Regions from separate parts of the Homo sapiens genome. Here region 2 is linked to region 1. Evidence: promoter capture Hi-C in human tissues and cell types (Jung and others, 2019). All regions are on one chromosome and are shown on one strand. The core of a region is centred on a gene start or on the middle of the fragment in contact, and the rest is flanking DNA. Distances in the headings are between cores, read along the strand shown.

Evidence for each region. The method cuts DNA at HindIII sites, captures the fragments that hold promoters and counts their contacts. A contact is called where the count stands out against the background at its distance.
Region 2: a contact is called between a fragment that was not itself captured here and the fragment with the promoter of MTO1 in region 1, in 1 of the 25 tissues and cell types used here (spleen).

What each region holds. Positions count from the first base shown.
Region 1 is chr6:73,458,885-73,464,818 of GRCh38, reverse strand. It overlaps MTO1 (mitochondrial tRNA translation optimization 1), which reads right to left and starts at 3,082. Exons shown (of 12, transcript NM_012123.4): 1 at 2,748-3,082. The coding sequence starts at 2,964. It also overlaps the pseudogene RNU6-975P. RefSeq lists enhancers at 2,542-2,591, 2,612-2,671, 2,742-3,071, 2,244-3,089 and a silencer at 3,522-3,581. The HindIII fragment of the contact is 26,494 bases long and covers 1-5,934 here.
Region 2 is chr6:73,497,459-73,504,109 of GRCh38, reverse strand. It overlaps MTO1 (mitochondrial tRNA translation optimization 1), which reads right to left. Exons shown (of 12, transcript NM_012123.4): 11 at 6,214-6,374; 12 at 1-3,536. The coding sequence ends at 3,375. Among named protein-coding and RNA genes, the nearest start is that of EEF1A1, 20 kb to the left of the region's middle. RefSeq lists a silencer at 357-557. The HindIII fragment of the contact is 9,056 bases long and covers 1-6,141 here.

The DNA.
Region 1 (5,934 bases), core at 1,833-4,332:
TTGTTGCCCAGGCTGGAGTGCAATGGCACGATCTCAGCTCACTGCAACCTCCACCTCCCGAGTTCAAGTGATTCTCCTGCCTCAGCCTCCCAAGTAGCTGGGATTACAGGCATACGCCACCACGCCTGGCTAATTTTCTTTCTTTTTTTTTTTTTTTTTAGTATTTATTGATCATTCTTGGGTGTTTAATTTTCTATTTTTAATAGAGACAGGGTTCCTCCATGTTGGTCAGGCTGGTCTCGAACTTCCGACATCAGGTGATTTGCCCGCCTTTGCCTCCCAAACTGCTGGGATTACAGGCATGAGCCACCATGCCCAGACAAGACCTCCACAAGTTTTAATGGTCTCCACAGGGAGACTGGATAGCACTGTGATTATGAGCATGAAGTGTCATTATGAGGAGTGTGTGTGAAAGAGATATCTGGCTCAATTTCTAGACCTACCACTTATGAGCTCTGTGATCATGGCAAGTTACCTAACATACCTTAGTCTCTCTACTGTAAAAACAGGAATGACAGCTGTGGTAGATTATTTTCCTCCTTCTTCCTTTGAAATAGAAGACTCCTGGGCTCCCCAAATGCTGGGATTACAAGCGTGAGTAATCACCCCTGGCCTAGGTCTTTATTTTATTATTATTTTTTAAAAATATGGAACACTTCACAAATTTGTGCATCATCCTTGTGCAGGGGCTATGCTAATCCCTATATCATTCCAACTTTAGTTTATGTTGTTGCCAAAGCAAGCACTAGGTCTTTATTTTTTAAAAATATAAACAACAGGCCAGGTGTGGTGGCTCACACCTGTAATCCCAGCACTTTGGGAGGCTGACACGGGTGGATCACCTGAAGTCAGGAGTTGGAGACCAGCCTGGCCAACATGATGAAACCCCATCTCTACTAAAAATACAAAAAATTAGCTGGGCGTGGTGGCAGACTCCTCTAATCCCAGCCACTTGGGAGGCTGAGGCAGGAAATCGCTTGAACCCGGGAGGTGGAGGTTGCAGTGAGCCAAGATCGCGCCACTGCATTCTAGCCTGGTCAACAACAGCAAAACTCTGTCTCAAAAATGAAAGAAAAGAAAAGAAAAAACCCACCTGAATGTATGATGAGAAAAGTATAATCTTTTAGGAAATCATATAGCCTCCTCTCCCCCACCCACAAAACCGCAGTTAATAGTATATATTTCTTCACAGTTATGAGCTGAATGGTTATTTTAAAGAAGAATTTCAGGAATAAATAAGTGATTTATTCACAACTTTTACAAAACAAGTAAATATTCTAATTACTGCTCGCTCCTAAGCAAAAGGAAGGAGGAAAGACAAAAGTATACATAATTTACAAGTTGATGTTTTAGCTAGTATCTATCATGATGCTACAGAACGGCCATCCAACCATTACCCATTAGAGCAAAAAAAGTACTGTCCAGTACTAAACACAAAATCCAGGGACGACAACCCAGAAGGAATATAGGATGCAAAAGGTAGCATGGCGCTGGGCACGGTGGCTCATGCCTGTAATCCCAGCATTTTGGGAGGCCGAGGCGGGCGGATCACAAGGTCAGGAGATCGAGACCATCCTGGCTAACATGGTGAAACCCCGACTCTACTAAAAATACAAAGAAAAAAAAAATTAGCCGGGCGTGGTGGTGGGTGCCTGTAATCCCAGCTACTCGGGAGGCTGAGGCAGGAGAATGGCATTAACCCGGAAGGCGGAGCTTGCAGTGAGCCGAGATGGCGCCACTGCACTTGAGCCTGTGTGACAGTGCAAGACTCTGTCTCAAAAGAAAAAAAAAAAAAAAAGGTAGCATGGTTCTTCCAAAAGGCATCACAAAATCTTGACAGAAACACAAAGATCAGGCTGGGCAGAGTACTGAGCACCTGCAATCCCAGCTACTGGTTAGGCAGAGGCAGGAAAAGTTCTTGAGTCCAGAAAGCGGAGCCTGTAATGTGCAACGATCGTGCCTATGAGTAGTCACTGCACTCCAGCCTGGGCAACATGGCGAGACCCTGTCTCTAAAAAAATGTTTTTAAATAAAAACACAAGAACCGTTTAATAAAGGATTTTTTTATTTTATTAATATTATCATTATTTTGAGACGGAGTTTTGCTCTTTTGCCCAGGCTGGAGTGAAGTGGCGCAATCTCGGCTCACTGCAACCTCTGCCCCCGGGTTCAAGCGATTCTCCTGCCTCAGACTCCCGAGTAGCTGGGATTATAGGCGCCCGCCACCATGCCCGGCTAATTTTTGTATTTTTAGTAGAGACGGGGTTTCGCCGTGTTGGCCAAGCTGGTCTCAAACTCCTGACCTCAGGTGATCCACCTGCCTTGGCATCCCAAAGTGCTGGGATTAAAGAAGTGAGCCACTGCACCTGGCCATAAACCATTGTTAATAATGTTAATTCACCCTTTATCTGGAGTAACATAGTAGAAGGTAAACGCAGCAATGAACTAAGAAGCTACCAGCGAGTAGTTGGTAGCTCCCTTTCCCAAGGCACTGACCCCGAACCCCAACCTCCTACAACGGACGACTGTCAGCAGCAGCATAATCTATGGTTCGCAGAATAGACTAATATAGAGTTCTGGCCTGGCCCGCCTGATCCTTGCGAGACACTGATCGAGGCTAAAACCACAGAAGGTAGGATTCTCACTAGCTTTGAGGAAAGGAAGAGGTCCCCCGCTTCAGACCGGGGGAGGCGGGAAGGAAGCAGCCTGCGTCCTACGCCAAGTTCCACAGCACCCGCGCTCCTCACCGATCGTGTCCACGCGGTGAGTGAGGAGCAGAGTCCGAGAGCCGCACCGAGCGGCGGCGGTGGCTGCCTCAGTCCCGGCATGTCCTCCACCAATGACTATCACGTCGAAGTGCGGAGTCCGGGGCGCCGCGCTGTCACTGCTCAACCGTGCCAACGGAAATTGCTGCTTGGTGAAGGAAACCGCGACCCAACGGCCACAGCCTCGGAAGTAGAACATGCTGGGAGAAAAATCTATCTGACTTTGAAGCTGACACGAGTGACGGTCAAAAAAACTTACGCAACAAGAGACAATCTGCAGGGCGCGGCCATCTTGCTTTAATATCACGGGGTAGGACGTCTACGTCCAGCGTCGCCGCTGATTGGCGGTTTGGAGCTACTTTCCTGGTGAGGGAGATGGGTGATCGCACGGAGGGCCGGTTGTGTATTTTCTTTCCTAGTTCGTGCGGGCTTTTTTTATTATTATTATTTTTTATTTTTATTTATTTATTTATTTATTTATTTATTTATTTATTTATTTATTTATTTATTTATTTATTTTGAGACAGAGTCTCGCTCTGTTGCCCAGGCTGGAATGCAGTGGCGCGATTTCGGCTCACTGCAAGCTCCCCCTCCCGGGTTCGCGCCATTCTCCTGCCTTAGCCTCCGAGTAGCTGGGGCTACAGGCGCCCGCCACTACGCCCGGCTAATTTTTTGTATTTTTAGTAGAGACTGGGTTTCACCGTATTAGCCAGGATGTTCTCGATTTCCTGACCTCGTGATCCGCCCGTGCGGGCTTTTTTTGATTTCCTGTGGTTCTGGGTTGGGAGCTCCTACTAAAGGTCATCTTTTGTACTTTCTTAGGCCCTGCAGTCCTTATCGCCAGGTGGCCACCTACGATCAATGAATTTGATCACTTTGCCTTATCAGATCTTTGTGATCTGACAATCTGATACACCGTCACCTTCTGTTTGTCTATAAAAACTAAGGGCTGAAAATAAGAATAGATTCGGGCCGGGCGCGGTGGCTCACGCCTGTATTCCCAGCACTCTGGGAGGCCGAAGCAGGTGGATCACAAGGTCAGGAGATGGAGACCATCCTGGTCAACATGGTGAAACCCCATCGCTACTAAAAAAAAAAAAAAAAAAAAAAAAAAAAAAAATTAGCCGGGAGTGGTGGCATGCACCTGTAATCCCAGCTACTCAGGAGACTGAGGCAGGAGAATCGCTTGAACCTGGGAGGCCGAGGTTGCAGTGAACCAAGATTGTGCCACTGCACTCCAGCCTGGGCGACAGAGCAAGACTCCGTCTCAAAAAAAAAAAAAGAAAAAGAAAAGAAAAAGAATAGATTCGAAAGGAGTTCAAATATATTTGTGGACTGAAAGATTCATGATGGTGCCTGGGCATGGTGGATCACGCCTGTAATCCTAGCACTTTGGAAGGCCGAAGGGGGCAGATTGCCTGAGCTCAGGAGTTCGAGACCAATCTGGGCAACATGGTGAAACCCCGTCTGTACTAAAATACAAAAAAAAAAATTAGCCAGGTGTGGTGGCATGCACCTGTAGTCCCAGCTACTTGGGCGGCTGAGGCAGGAGAATTGCTTGAACCCGTAGGCAGAGGTTGCAGTGAGCCGAGATCGTGCCACTGCACTCCAGCCTGGCGACAAGAGTGAGACTCTGTCTCAAAAAAAAAAAAAAGAGAGAGAGAGATTCATGATGGCTAATTGGTTAATTAGAAGAATCGGTTGGTTGGAGGTTAAATGTCCAGCCTTTTGGAATTCACAGCCTTTCTCAATTCACAGCCTTTCTCAGAAAGGCAACGTTTGACTGGAGAATAAAACAAGTGTGGTATTGCAGGATCTGGCCAGCAGCCCACAATGCAATGGGGCTCTTTCTTTGTTCCCAGGCGGATTGGCAGGTCGAGAAATAATAGACACACAGAAGATATTGAAAGCTGGGTCCAGGGGGGTCACTGCCTTCTGGTCCTGCAATGCTGCTAATACACTGGATATACCAGCATTTATTATTAAGTTTAGTGAGGGCAGGGGTAGGTTAGTGAGGGATTTAGGGTCATTTGATTATGAGGTGAGATGGTCACATGGGGATGAAGTAATTCTTTAACATAACATCTGTATGCAGAAGTACAGTATACAGAGATAAGAATTTACAATATATTGTGTGCATCAGTAATTTCTAACAGAGCCTTAAAACAGAAACAGTCTTTCCATAACCTATGATTAGCAAGATATTAATCAGCAGTAACAGTTGCAGCAAAAGCTGGTTACAAACAATCCATAGAAACAGGATGTGAAGCTAGACAATCAGTTAGACCAGAAATTCTCAGAAGGGAGTATGCCTTAACCCTAAAAAGGCCTAGAAGAGCCGTGGCAAGATGAGGGCATTTATAGCCCTATCTTACCCACAGGGACAGGCGCCCCTCATGCGTCCGTTTAGAGGCTTTCCACAAGGGTTGCATTCCATTCCCAGAGCTATGAACATCTGCTTTTCTGGGATAGGAATCTTGGTGATGCACGTCCGTTCATAGGCTCTCTGCAGGGGGAAGCACATCACCCGCTGTTGGCTCATTCTGGCAGTCCAACCTGGCATTCTCTTTACACAATCCTGCATGCAACTTTGTATTTACAATAATCAGGAGCATTTCATCTTTTATTCCGTAGCAATAGTTTCAGGGGTCTCCCTACAGTGTGGCAGTTTTATTGTTCTAATTATAAAAAGTATTAAATACATAGGCCGGGAGTGGTGGCTCACACCTGTAATCCCAACACTTTGGGAGGCCAAGGTGGCGGATCACTTGAGTCCACCAGGAGTTTGAGACCAGCCTGGCCAATATGGCGAAACTCTATCTCTACTAAAAATAGAAAAATTAACCTGGCATGGTGCTGCGTGCCTGCAGTCCCAGCTACTCAGGAGGCTGAGGCAGGAGAATTGCTTGAACCCAGGAGGCACAGGTTGCAGTGAGCCCAGATGGTGCCATTGCACTCAAGCCTGGGTGACTGAGACCCTGTCTCAAAAAAACAAAACAAAAACCCTTAAAACAAAAAACAGTAAACATTATTTCTTTTCTTTATTTTTTTTTAATAGGATCTCCTTCTGTTGCCCAGGCTGGAGTGCAGTGGCGCTATCATGGCTCACTGCAACCTCCGCCTCCTGGGCTCAAGTGATCCTCCCACCTCCATCTCCCAAATAGCTGGG
Region 2 (6,651 bases), core at 364-2,863, 41 kb before region 1:
TAGAAGTATTGTGGAGAGGGAGTGTAAGAGGAACAATTAATTTTCACTGTGTGCATTCCAGTGTTAAGTGGCTCTTCCAGATCAGAATAAACCCCTAGTCTCTGCTGGTGGCTTTCCTGATACTCCTGACCACTTCTTCTGGACAGGGCATTCTTCTAGGAGTTGAAATTTCTGAAGTAGAAAAGCCATGGCTATTCCAATCTAGGTTGAAACTAAAAAATGACAAAATACTTTTAAAACCATCAGTAACAAAATTTAAGCTCTTGGCTATAAAGGAACTTCATTTTCAAGGCCATAATCGTTTAATTTAGCATAGGTTCGTATCTTCATCCTTCCTCCCCCAGTAATTTTACAAATGCTTAGTGTTTCTTAGTCATTTCTTATTTTTTGGTGTTCCTGTTGAATTGAATTGAAAAAATACCTGGCTTTTTCAACTGGTAGGCAGTCTGGTCTGTGGTGAATAGAGGAAGTCACAAGTATGGCCAGCTTTCGTTGGCAGCTGATTATTGTCAGTGATGGGATTTCTATGAAGTAACTACATTGAGTAAGGTTACATTTTTAGCTGATTTCTTCCTAGGGCATCATATTCTGTAGTACTTCTGCATAGCAGCACCAGAGGGTAGGCTGTTTTGACATATTAAGTGATGTAATTTTGTTTAAGTTAACATACAAACATTGTGGATTTAAAGAGGTTTCAGGCCACGTGTGGTGGCTCATGCCTGTAATCTGAGCACTTTGGGAGGCCAAGGCAAGAGGATCATTTGAGGCCAGAAGTTCAAGACCAGCCTGGGCAACATAGTGAGACTTCATTCCTACAAAAAATTTTTTTAAAACTTAGCCAGGCATGGTGGCATGTGCCTGTAGTCCCAGCCACTTGGGAGGCTGAGGCATAAGGATCACTTGAGCCCAGGAGATCAAGGCTGCAGTGAGCTATGATTGTACCACTGCACTACAGCCTGGGCAACAGAGTGAGACCCTGTCTCTAAAAAATAAAGAAGTTCACATCCTAAAGCAAATCATAGAATCTAAAATATGTATTTTCCATGAAACATTTTTCAGTGAGACAGTTACTATTGTAATGGAATAGCATTACAAACCTTCATTACTAAGAAACTTTAAAGTTTCTTTATATGTGTATAGTGTCACTAGCCCCAAATTGTAGCTGTCAAGAACCTCCCAAAATATTTGAACTTCCTGTTTCTTTTTTTTTTTTTGAGACAGAGTCTCACTCTGTTGCCAGGCTGGAGTGCAGTGGCATGATCTTGGCTCACTGCAACCTCTGCCTCCTGAGTTCAAGTGATTCTCTTGCCTCAGCCTCCTGAGTAGTTGGGACTACAGGCACGTGCCAACACACCTAGCTAATTTTTGTATTTTTAGTAGAGATGGGGTTTCACCATGTTGGGCAGGATGGTCTCGATCTCCTGACCTCGTGATCCACCTGCCTCAGCCTCCCAAAGTGCTGGGATTACAGGCGTGAGCCACTGTGCCAGGTTACTTCCCGTTTCTTTAAGATAAATTTTTGTTATATTCTATTCAAAAGGCACTCCATTCACTTTTTTTACTCTTGTATTTAATCAGAAAAAAAAGTTTAGAAACAATGAATTTCATTATTTTGCTGAACGGGTAGCACAAAAACACAAAATACCTTCTTTTCTTTTTCTTTTTTTTGAAACAGTCTCACTCTGTCGCCCAGGCTGGAGTGCAGTGGCACAATCTCAGCTCACTGCAACCTCTGCCTCCTGGGTTCAAGCGATTCTCCTGCCTCAGCCTCCTGAGTAGCTGGGACTACAGGCTTGCTCCACCACGCCTGGCTAATTTTGGTATTTTTAGTGGAGATGGGGTTTTGCCATGTTGGCCAGGCTGGTCTTGAACTCCTGACTTCAGGTTATCCACCCGCCTCAGCCTCCCAAAGTGCTGGGATTACAGGCGTGAGCTGCTGCAACCAGCCTCTTTTCAAAATATATACACAATGTGGTATTGTAATTAATATTGTCTCTGTAAGAAGAATTTTGCCCAGGAGTAGCTATGACTAAAAGTTACGACCTTTTGAAATCACTGAATCAAGTATTAAAAAATATTCATCATTCCTAAATTATCCAGCACTACAAATACTTTTTACTTGCTACTAATCTTACTGCTTTCTGGAAAGACTAAAATTAGATAAAATAAACCCAAGAAAACTAAGCTACCTCCAAGTGGCCATATGCAATTATAGTAACAAGATACTTGGTTGCCTCACACCCATAATCAGGCTTAACATACACATCTGTAGCCAAAGTGACTTTGGGGCCCTTAGAACTCTCCTGAGTACCTGCTTTGGCCCGAAGGTGACACGGGAGCTTCTCCCTAGGCTGACACCAGAGATCTGGGTTGGAATTCCAGAGACAAGCAGGGCTGTCTGGCCCATTTGGCTGTATTCATCCCTTAGTCTATTTAGAATGGTTGAGGTATCTGAGGTATCTGAGTCAAAAGGCCCAGCTGATTATCCCACTCTAACCCCTGTGAAGACATACCATTGAAGTACTGGAGAGGAAGAGGGGTACTACCACTATTCTGTTTTTTCTGTCATTCTGACTTAAAAACAGGGAAACACCACTCACCAGTTACTATGGACCTGTCTTCATTATTAAGAAATGATGGCCATGACAATTTCTTAAGAAAATATTTTTATGGTATGATATAAAATAACTAACGTTACTCAATTCTCCCATAACTAGGTCACCAAATAAGTATCCATCCACACTGTGGATAATAGGAAACAATGGTGATTTCCAATCTTTCTATTTTATAGGGCTTTCATTAATGTTCAAAACAATTACCAGTGAGGATTTCCTGAAGAAGTACAGATTTCTGTCAACTTTCACCCTACATACTATATTCCAATAGTATTAGCTGAATGATTCTGGATAATTTTATATAATCTCAAGTCTTTAGTCTTGAGAATTTAAGGGCTTTGATATTGCTTCCTAGCCTAGTATAACCAAGCAAAAGATTATTAACTCTCAAAACACGCTGAATGATAAGACTTTTAATTTGGTAGACTTAATAGGCAAAGTCCCTATGAGTAGGCAAATCTGCATGTTGAGTTTTATTCCAGGTTCAGTTTTAGGTTCACTGTCTCTCTCTTTGATGAACACTGCACAAAGTTATTTGTATTACAGCTCCTTAAAGAAAGAGTACAAATTGTTTACGACTAGTTTTTTCATATACACGAAAAAGCACAATTATAATTTCTGTCCCACTCAGAAATTAATGGCAAACCCATAGTAACCTAATAAAGCTATTTTAACATGTGCTAAATAATTCTTTTATCTATACTGTTGTATTGATCAAATTATTTATATGCTCTTTAAAAATCTTTTATGAATTGAAAGCTATAACTCTCTCTCTTGAAGTCTGTCTGCATCACATAAGTATTGATCAGTCTTGGATGATTCATTCATAGCCGACTGTCTTCGTTGAGTGGTCTTCACAAATCTCAGCAGATTGATGATGGCGGCAGGTGTTACTCCGGGTATGCGACTAGCAGCCCCGATCTAAAAATCAATACCACAAGAGAAACTAAGTGAGCTATGCTATGTCAAATCAAATCTATTTTCCTCCAAATAACAATCTGTATAGTATAGTTTATACAATATTTTCTTAATTATTATTTTGATGTATTATCTTAACATATTTCCTTGTAAAGTAGATAAAGGAAATATTATTATTTATGTCTTCATTTTACAAATGGGAAACTGAGGCACAGAAATGTTAAAATAGCTTGTGCAAGATTACATAACTAATAGATGTTAGAGTATCTACTTTTTTGTCCCATTAAACTAAGAAAAACTGTAATCAAGTTCCTTTCTTCAAATACAGGTCCACAGTCCCTTATTTGAAATTCTTGAGGCCAGCCTGGGAAAAATAGTGGGACTCTGTCTCTACAGAAAATAAACAAAAATTAGCTTAGGATGGTGGTGCACACTTGTAGTACTAGCCTCTCAGAAAACAAAGGTGGGAGGATCACTTGAGCCTGGGAGGTCGAGAATGCAGTGAGCTGTGATTATGCCACTGCACTCCAGCCTGGGTGACAGAGTAAGCCCCTCTCTCAAAAAAATAAAATGAAATGAAATCCTTGAAGCCATATGTTTTTGTAATAAGATATATCTAATCCTTGAGGCGGTACCTAATGTAACAGCCTCAGCAGTGTGTGGGGCAGCGCCCCACATTTTTAATCCTATTAATATTTCTGCAGTGTATTTTTACAGTGAAATGTATGAATATTCACTCTGAACAGTATAAAGACCATATAGCCTCTTCTGAGCTGAGCTCAGTTTTGCTACCAAATGAGCTTGTGGCAAACTTCTGCCAGAGCCTTTTGTATTATAGAATTGTGGGCAAGGAGTTCTGAACTCCTATGACCAGTGCTGTCCAACTGAACTTTCTATGATGATGGAAATCTTCTATAACATGTGCACTGCAATAATGCAGTGTCCAATATGGTAGCCACTAGTCATATGTGGCTACTGGGCACTTGAAATGTGGCTAGTAAGACTGAGGAACTGAATTTTACATTTTATTTAATTTTTTTCTTTTTTTTTTTTTTGAGACAGGGTTTCACTCTGTCACCCAGGCTGGGATGTAGTGGTATAATCATGACTTGCTGCAGCCTCTACCTCCTGGGCTCAAGCGATCCTCCCACCTCAGCCTCCCAAGTAGCTGGGACTATAGGTGCATGCCACTGCACCTGGCCTATTTAATTTTAATTAATGTAAATAACCACAATTGGCGAGTGGCTATCATGTTGGACAGTGTGGCAGTGTAGCCTATGATTATCCATACAAACATAACCTGAAATCAATAGGAAGGGACAAAGTCATAAAATTTAAGGCTTATTTTCCTGGTTTCCATGATGACTGTTGCTAAGAATACCATCTTATATTAATGAAATTACTCCTCCCTGTAAAAATAGTTTTTTTCAAATTTTTCTACAGTCTATATTTTTGTAATATGCCCCTTTATTTTATGAAACACTACTAAAAAAAAAATGTCCATTAAACTGTGACACACCATCAATTTTTGAGATAGTAAAGATGCAACTGGCCAGGCACGGTGGCTCACGCCTGTAATCCCAGGACTTTGGGAGGCCAAGGCGGGCAGATCATGAGGTCAGGAGATCGAGACCATCCCAGCCAACATGGTGAAACCCCGTCTCTGCTAAAAGTACAAAAAAAAATTAGCTGAGTGTGGTGGCATGCGCCTGTAGTCCCAGCTACTTGGGAGGCTGAGGTAGGGGAATCGCTTGAACCCAGGAGGCAGAGGTTGCAGTGAGCCGAGATCGTTCCACTGCACTCCAGCCTGGTGACAGAGTGAGACTCCATTTCAAAAAAAAAAAAGATGCAATTTTAGAGATGTTAAAATGTGGAGAAAAGTGTATTTCAGAATCAGTAAGTACAGTTTATCAGTCTTTAAACATTTATTAGAAGCCCAATACTAATTACTATATAGTAAATTAAAAGTTTATTTGTTTACACAAAGGAACATGCATATACCCTCTCACAATTAGTCTGAAGCACGTGGTGGGGGCATTTTTTGGCTCCCCTCTTTCTCCCATTAGTTCCCAAGGCAACACTATGGAACTCCTAGGGAGGACTCCAAGTAGTGACTTGAAAATCACAAATATGAGTTATGTTTTAATCTAGTATGGTTTCCTTTAAGCCATACACGTGTACTATCTTGCATAGTTTGCTCTGATGCTTTATCACATGGTTGGGACTAGAGAATAGTTCCAATCAAACCAATTCTTGACTTCCAGTTATTTAGTTAAAGTTAAGCTTTATCATCTCTCATACAAACATACCAACATCTGTCTTAGAAACACAAGAAAAAAATCTGAGGTCAAGTTTCTTTTTTTTTTGAGACAGGGTCTCACTCTGTTGCCCAGGCTGGAGTGCAGTCGTGCAATCATGGCTCACTGCAGCCTCAGTGTCTTGGGCTCAGGTATCTGCCACCTCAGCCTCCCGAGTAGCTGGCGCTGCAGGTGCATGCCACCATGCCCAGCTAATTTTTGTATTTTTGTAGAGATGGGGTCTTGCTGTGTTGCCCATGCTGGAAGTTTCTTATTACTAAATAAAACATTAGTTATATGGCCATTATAACCCCAGGTTTAAAAAATTAAAGCACTGTATCTTTATCTATAACTTGTTTCTATTCTCCTGCCTATTTTCTTACCGTCTGTGGACGACTAAAATGTAGTTTCTCTCGAACTTCATGGGACAAAGACACATCCCTGATAGTCAAATAATCTAGGTCTTTTGGCAGTTGGAGAGCTTCATCTTGCTGAACTCCCTTTATTTCTTGTAGTTGATGGAACAACACTGATTCATAAGTGGCTGGTCAACAAAATCAGAATCATGTTATAATACCCAGATTATATTATACTAACAACTTACATTTATGTAGCCTCTTACAATTTACAAAAAGCTTTTGTGTACATCATCTCATTCAACACTCATTTCATGAGATGGGTTGGGTAGGTGTTCCCTTTTACATAGGAGGAAACTGAAGCTAAGATAAATGGAGTGTCTTGCATATTAACTACAACATTCTGTCTAGTAGTTTAGTGCATGTCCTTTTCAAATATCTGGAAAATTAAAAGTAAAAAAAGAA